Linked DNA regions of Homo sapiens: region 2 is linked to region 1. Evidence: promoter capture Hi-C in 16 types of primary human blood cells and fetal thymus (Javierre and others, 2016). All regions are on one chromosome and are shown on one strand. Each heading gives the region's core, a stretch centred on a gene start or on the middle of the fragment in contact. The rest is flanking DNA. Distances are from core to core; before and after follow the strand shown. Region 1 holds the start of MAP3K21 (mitogen-activated protein kinase kinase kinase 21). Region 2 overlaps SLC35F3 (solute carrier family 35 member F3).

Region 1 (3,570 bases), core at 66-2,565:
TTTGACCAGCTGTTGGTTGATTCTGTGGATGCAGAAGACCCACTGTAAAACTATTAACTCATTTAGTCTTCCTAAAAACCCTATAAAGTAGGTACTATTTATTATATTCCCATTTTATAGATGAGAAAACTGAGTCATAGAGAAATAAAGAAACTTGCTCAAGGTCACACAGCCAATAAATAGTTTGATCTGAGAGACAAAGAAAACTGAAAAGACAATAAATTTATCTTTATGTAACTCAGAATGTTACTGTATGTCCTATCCTCATAATATCTAAAATTGTCCCTTCTGTTATTGGAAGTACAGGATCCACACGTTAGGAAATTCTGGCCTACTACAGGATAATCTAATATTTTAGAATTTTAATAACTAAGCTCTTCTATCTTTTTAGCCTCATCACCTGCCACAGTAACCTACCAACGTCTGGCACCCAGCCATTGCCAATGCTTCCTAAACCCAAACCTGTGGGTTTCCAGGGAGACTGGGGCATTTTCCATCTGAGTAGACAGTAAAAATAAGCAAAGGATTTACCATCATGGAGCTTCTGGGACTATACCGACCACGGGTCACTCTGCGCTGCGATCTGTAACCTAGTCAGTTCTGAGATGCACGGTGGCTCAAACGCACTTAGCATGGTGACTTGCCACTCGCACTGGCCCAGGTCTGGCACCGCGCTACAATTTCTTCTGTAGCCCGTTCTGAGATTCTGTCACTCTCCCTGAACTGCAACTCTCTCTCTCCCCGCCACACCCTAAAGCCCCACATCTTCTCAACCCTCTCCCACCGCTTCTTGGAGAAGCGTCCCCTCCCTCAGTCTTACCTTTGGCTTAATTTAAACTCTCCCGAAAATTTATAGCGGATGACGGCCGATCCCGCCTCCCAGACCATGTGGGCGCGGCTCACCATTGCTCCGGAGCACCTGCGGCGGGGGCGGGGTGGGACCAGCCAGGCGGGCCCAGGGGGCGGGCCCGGCCCAAGGTGGTGGGGGACGGGCCCGGGCGCCAGGGGCGGGACGAGGCTCTGGGGACTGGCACAGAAAAGGGAAGTGAACCTGGCGAGGGCGGGGCGGGATGGTGCAGTTGGTGGGGAAGGGTGGGGCGAACCTAGGAAGGCGGTCCCATAGGGCGGGCGCAGACTGGGCGCCCGGGACGGGTCAAGGAGGGCGGAATGAACCTGGAGAGGGCGGGGCGGCTGGGGGAGGGGCGGGAAGGCCCTGGGGACTGGCCTAGGGGCGGGCCCGGGGGGGTGGGGGGGCGGTGCGGAATGGAGCCGGAGGGGGCGGGGCGGCCCTGGCGCGGCTAGGGTGGGGTGGGGCGTCCCAGGCTCTGGCTAAGGAGCGCGCGGCGGGCGGGCCGGCCGCAGGGCCTGGGCACGACCATGGTGGGACGTCGCCCGCGGCTTCGGGGACCGCTGCGGCAGCAGAGGCGGCTGGCCAGGAACGCGGGCCGAGGCTGGACCCTTTGGGCAGCTAGCCCGTGATCTCTGCCGTCACCGATCGCGATTCCTACCCCCTCGCCTTCCCCCGGCGCCGACGGCCACACCGCCGGACGATGCGCGCCCGCGGCCGCCCGGGAGGCTGAGCCCAGCTTCCCGCTCCGCCTTCCCCGCGCAGCTGCCCCCATGGCTTTGCGGGGCGCCGCGGGAGCGACCGACACCCCGGTGTCCTCGGCCGGGGGAGCCCCCGGCGGCTCAGCGTCCTCGTCGTCCACCTCCTCGGGCGGCTCGGCCTCGGCGGGCGCGGGGCTGTGGGCCGCGCTCTATGACTACGAGGCTCGCGGCGAGGACGAGCTGAGCCTGCGGCGCGGCCAGCTGGTGGAGGTGCTGTCGCAGGACGCCGCCGTGTCGGGCGACGAGGGCTGGTGGGCAGGCCAGGTGCAGCGGCGCCTCGGCATCTTCCCCGCCAACTACGTGGCTCCCTGCCGCCCGGCCGCCAGCCCCGCGCCGCCGCCCTCGCGGCCCAGCTCCCCGGTACACGTCGCCTTCGAGCGGCTGGAGCTGAAGGAGCTCATCGGCGCTGGGGGCTTCGGGCAGGTGTACCGCGCCACCTGGCAGGGCCAGGAGGTGGCCGTGAAGGCGGCGCGCCAGGACCCGGAGCAGGACGCGGCGGCGGCTGCCGAGAGCGTGCGGCGCGAGGCTCGGCTCTTCGCCATGCTGCGGCACCCCAACATCATCGAGCTGCGCGGCGTGTGCCTGCAGCAGCCGCACCTCTGCCTGGTGCTGGAGTTCGCCCGCGGCGGAGCGCTCAACCGAGCGCTGGCCGCTGCCAACGCCGCCCCGGACCCGCGCGCGCCCGGCCCCCGCCGCGCGCGCCGCATCCCTCCGCACGTGCTGGTCAACTGGGCCGTGCAGATAGCGCGGGGCATGCTCTACCTGCATGAGGAGGCCTTCGTGCCCATCCTGCACCGGGACCTCAAGTCCAGCAACAGTAAGTGGGGCCAGAGGGAGGTGGGGGAAGACTACCTCCGTGCCAGCCCAGGCGGGCTCCACAGGACATAGTACCAGATGGAAAGAGGTGGGAGTCAGCCTTAGGGCGCCAGCAGCAACTCATGCCCAGGCCTTCAGGGCTCGGAAGTCCAGCTAGTCCTTGGTTACTTGCTTTGGGGCTGGTGACACGCTTAACCTTGACTTGCCTTTGGGTGCTTTTTAAAAAAGTTCAGACCAGACTTGCTTGTAGAGGAAACATTTGTAAAATACCTGGATCTCCTAGAAACCTCAGGGGGCAGTCTGGCCTTTCAATACCAGAGGTGATTCATCTGGGTAGGACTTTGCAAACCGAGGCCTTCTGCAGATTATATGGAACCCATGACCGTCTTCACCCGGTGGCCTTCATCAAAGTCCCCGAATGCACTCGGGGACGTCAACTTTACAAGTGCTGTATTGAGGTTGCTGTTTGCCTATTCAAAATATGACTTCATGTCTCTTACCTTTTCCAAAGACTGTTTTCATTCAAATGTCTCTCTATGGGCCAGGCGCGGTGGCTCATACCTGTAATCCCAGCACTTTGGGAGGCCGAGGTGGGCGGATCACCTGAGGTTACGAGTTTGAGACCAGCCTGGCCAACATGGCGAAACCCTGTCGCTACTAAAAATACAAAAATTAGCCCGGCGTAGTGGCAGGCGCCTGTAATCCCAGCTACTCGGGAGGCGGAGGCATGAGAATCACTTGAACCCGGGAGGCGGAAGTTGCAGTGAGCCAAGATCGCGCCACTGCACTCCAGCCTAGGAGATAGAGTGAGACTCTGTCTCAAAAAAAAAAAAAGTGTCTCTACGTGAAATATGATTTTATTATTGGTTCAATGGCTTCTTTTCTCCAGACAAGAGGCACTGGTGTGCACCGTAATGCACTTTTGGGTTAATAACAAGTGCATTGTCCTTGCACAGGTACTTGAAACCTTGAAGACCTGGCCAGTGTCATTGACTTTGTTTATAAATCAGGGTGGATTTTCCAGATGTCAATAAAGAACTGACAAATGACTTAAATGCAAATCCTATGAAACTTTGCTGTATAAAAGAGCCTATAGAATTGCTGTTTGATGTTGGTTCTTTAATATTGAAGATCGCTTCATATTCT
Region 2 (3,682 bases), core at 599-3,098, 740 kb after region 1:
TTAGTAATTTTGTATGATGGCCTCCTTAAAATAAATAATTAATGCTCCTCTCAACCTTCTAGATTTGTGCAGAGTTACAATTGGAGACTGTTAGAACTAGGAAGAATCTGAGAGCTTACCCTCAACTCCCATTTTGGGAGATGAGGAAATAGATGCAGAGCAATCCCGTCTCACCTGAAGCCCTGCCTCCAGGCAGCCGACAGAGCCTCACGACTCTATCAGAGAAAGTCTGTCTTGTTAGGTATACAGTGAAGAGACTGTATACCTTTCAAAGGAGTTGTCCCTCCTCTGGCCCTATGTGTGGAGAGGACCCAAGAGCAGACCCGGCAGAGTCTAGGGACCTGGCAAGTCAAGAATCTATCAATAATATCGCTACAACACATGAGTACCTGCTGGGGGTCAGGTGCTAGTCAAATGCTTTCTTTATTTCCTTGACAATTACTTACTGAGAAACTATGGGCCAGGCACTGTTCAAAGTCCTTGGGACTCTCCAGAGAGTAAAATGGTAAAACAGCTCCATCATCATGGTGCTTCTTTTAGAACCATTTTCAGAAAGCTTGTTCCCATCCTGGTTTCATTAGAGCAAAGACGACGTTCTTGTCACTCCTGCTGGGTCCTCCACCCCTGGCAGAGAGCCTGTAAGTTAATGGGTGGGTGGACAGTCCTTACGTGACCAAATTCATGTGTTTCCAAATCTTTGCCATTTCTCTCACCTCTGATAGGAGTAGAGCATTAATGGGTTAAACAGAAATTATCAGTTTAGTAGGCTCTCACCATGAAAGTTACAACAAATAACATTTTTAGGAATATTTAATGAACATTCCATGTTATTCAGATCTATGAACATGCAATTTGTCATTGAAGAAGTGAGGCCTTGGGAAGAAAGCAGCAGAATGCTTCAAAAGGTGTCTAATTTCCACCTACAAACCTATTAATAACAGCTCCTCCCAAACTCCGTACCTCCTATTGGCATGCCTCGTTAAGATGTAATTAATGGCCAAGGACCACCCTTTCTACTCCCCAAATTGTTGGCTAGTTGTTGAAGTTATGGGAGTTAAGAAACTCCACTATCCCTTGTCAATAAAGTTTCATTATATCCCACAGGGCACAATTGGCACCATTTACTGGCCTGGACAGAAAAAGGAATCAGGGGACTCATGAGTGTGGTTGCTTGAATTGGGAATGAGAGAACTTATGACAATGTAGCTGAGTGGAAATAACTGTTTTTAGAGTCAGATTTATGTAAGTGACTACTGAAATTAATTCAACAACAGTAGATATTGTAGGCAGCATGACTGCTTTATGTGCTGTTGCTAACTCCAAGGATTTCTAGAAGAATAGGACAATCCTAACAGTGCTGGTTTATTTTGGATATTTTTCTGTCTTGTCTAAGTAGCTGTGCCCTGGGTTTACATTTATTTATCTGTGAAGAAGGTTGCACTTAATAAAAGGCACTTGCTATGGTCATATGTTTCTTTCTGCCTTTATTCAGATGCAAACATAATTTTCTGTTAGTGACAATTGCCTGTGCCAGTCATTGGGCCCTTAATTCACTCAACAGATACTTCCTGAGCACTCATCAGACACTGATGGAGATAATGCAGTGAACAAAACAAAACCCTGGCCCTCCTTGGTAGAAAGAGAGAGACATGAAGCAAATATACAATTAAATATGTAACATGTTAGGTAGCGTTTAATACGATGGAGAAAAATTAAGCCAGGAGGGCCTGGGACAGACAGGAGAACTTGCCATTTTCTATGCGGTGACCGGGGAAGTATCTCTGATGTGAAGATAATTGAACAGAGAAAGGGGTGGGGGGCTGTGGATCTCGGGAAGAACGGTGTTCCAGGCAGAAAAGAAAGCCAATGCAACCCCTTGCAATGAGGCTATGCTTGAAGTGTTTGGGGAACAGGAGGAAGCCAAAATGGCTGCGGCCTATGAGTCAGCAAAGAGTGGCAGGACCCATGGGCAAGGGGGCAAGGGTCCCCATCACACCAGGCCTCAGAGGTCTTGTAAGGACCTTGGCTTGGCATGGAGAGATGGGAAGACCCTGGAAGGCTTTGATTAGAGGAGTGGCATGAACTAACTTAGGTTTGAAAAGAATCACTTTGGTTGTTATATGGCAAAGCAGATGGTGGGAGGACAGGCGTGGGCACTGGGAGACCTGGCGAGGGTGTTTGTGATAACCCAGTGGAGAGATGATGGAGGTGGCTGCAGAGGCAGTACAAAGTGATCCCATTGACTCATCTGTTCCGTGTGGATGTGTCTGTACCTTTCCCACAAGAACACAAATGTCAGATGGGCAGATATGCTAGCTTCTATTTCCTTTTGATTTTTATTTTACAGATAGGGTCTTGCTGTGTCACCCAGGCTGGAATGCAGTGACGTGATCATAGCACACTGCAGCCTTGAACTCCTGGGCTCAAGCAATCCTCCCACCTCAGCTTCCCATGTATGTGGAACTATAGCCATGAGCCACCAAGTCTGGCTAATTTAAAAAAAAATTTTGTAGAGATGGGATCGCACTGTGTTACACAGACTGGTCCTGAAATCCTGGGCTCAAGAGATCCTCCTGCCTTGCCTTCCAAAGTGCTAGGATTACAGGCATGAACCACCATGCCCAGTCCCCTATCTTCTATTTCTTGAGTCCTTCCATAAGCACCTTGCATAGCTGGATAATCGAAACACAAAAGTCATCATGGAAAGAAGCAGCAGCCATTGCTGTTGGAGACTGTGAACAAACCATTCAGCCTATCCATCAGGATACCCGTCACCTACCTCCCGGTTCCTTCAAAGGTACTGGGAAATCATTCTGAAATTCTGTGAATCAGATCAATTTAAATCACTTCCTCCGACATGATAAATATATGATACATACCACTCATTTCATTGTCCATATAAAATAAAAATCCAGTATAAACTGTGAAACCACTGGACTTTTTTCTCTTCTTTCCCTCATTTTTCCCATTTGCTTGTGGGTGTCCCAGGAAAAAGTCCCAAGTTTGATGTCGTACTTGCTTCAGTTTCTTTTTTTATTATTAAATGTGGTAAAATATTTGTAACATAAAATTTACCATCTGGGCCATTTTTAAGTGTGCATTCGATCGTGTTAAGTGTCTTTATATTGTGTATCATTGTCCAAGCTTTAGTTTCTTTTTCTGCTAGGTCTGGCAGGCCTGGAAGCCATATTGAGTGTGGCAAAATTCTCCATCTATTCTTCTACTGTTTTTCTATTAATGTGCTTGGTGCTACATTTTAAGAAACGTCCCTCTTGTCTCACGGTCTGAAAACTACCTTCTTTTCACAGGTGTCGGGTGTCATCCTACTCTTCATAAGTTAAACACTCCCTTCAGCTTTCCCTTTAAAATGTACGTCAAGGTCACGGGTCACATGGCTGGTCAGTAGCAGAAGCTTCCATCCTGATTGCTGGTCCTGTTCTCTTTTCATTACCTGCTATTATCTCTTCTGGACCCACTTCTTTCTCTTTTGACTTCATCATCAGTTAACAATGATTGAACACTGGGCACTTCTAAAAGCAATGCCAGAGCAAGCAGCTGCCCTAAAGGAGTATGTCAAGTATAAGAGGCAACTAGCAAATAGACATAGATATTGAAAACACAAATGACAAAATCTGTAACCACAGCCATGACAGCTCAACCCATGCAGATATGTATATATGAG

What was found. The method cuts DNA at HindIII sites, captures the fragments that hold promoters and counts their contacts. A CHiCAGO score of 5 or more calls a contact.
Region 2: a fragment that was not itself captured here is called in contact with the fragment with the promoter of MAP3K21 in region 1 in 7 of 17 cell types (M2 macrophages, erythroblasts, total CD4 T cells and 4 more); the score reaches 8.0 in M2 macrophages.

What each region holds. Positions count from the first base shown.
Region 1 is chr1:233,326,409-233,329,978 of GRCh38, forward strand. It overlaps MAP3K21 (mitogen-activated protein kinase kinase kinase 21), which reads left to right and starts at 1,316. Exons shown (of 10, transcript NM_032435.3): 1 at 1,316-2,425. The coding sequence starts at 1,621. It also overlaps a transcript of PCNX2 not described here. RefSeq lists silencers at 830-1,129, 1,320-1,619, 1,419-1,570, 1,760-1,959. The HindIII fragment of the contact is 7,885 bases long and covers 1-3,570 here.
Region 2 is chr1:234,070,818-234,074,499 of GRCh38, forward strand. The region is part of intron 2 of SLC35F3 (solute carrier family 35 member F3); the gene reads left to right. Among named protein-coding and RNA genes, the nearest start is that of SLC35F3, 170 kb to the left of the region's middle. RefSeq lists an enhancer at 1,998-3,197. The HindIII fragment of the contact is 2,588 bases long and covers 555-3,142 here.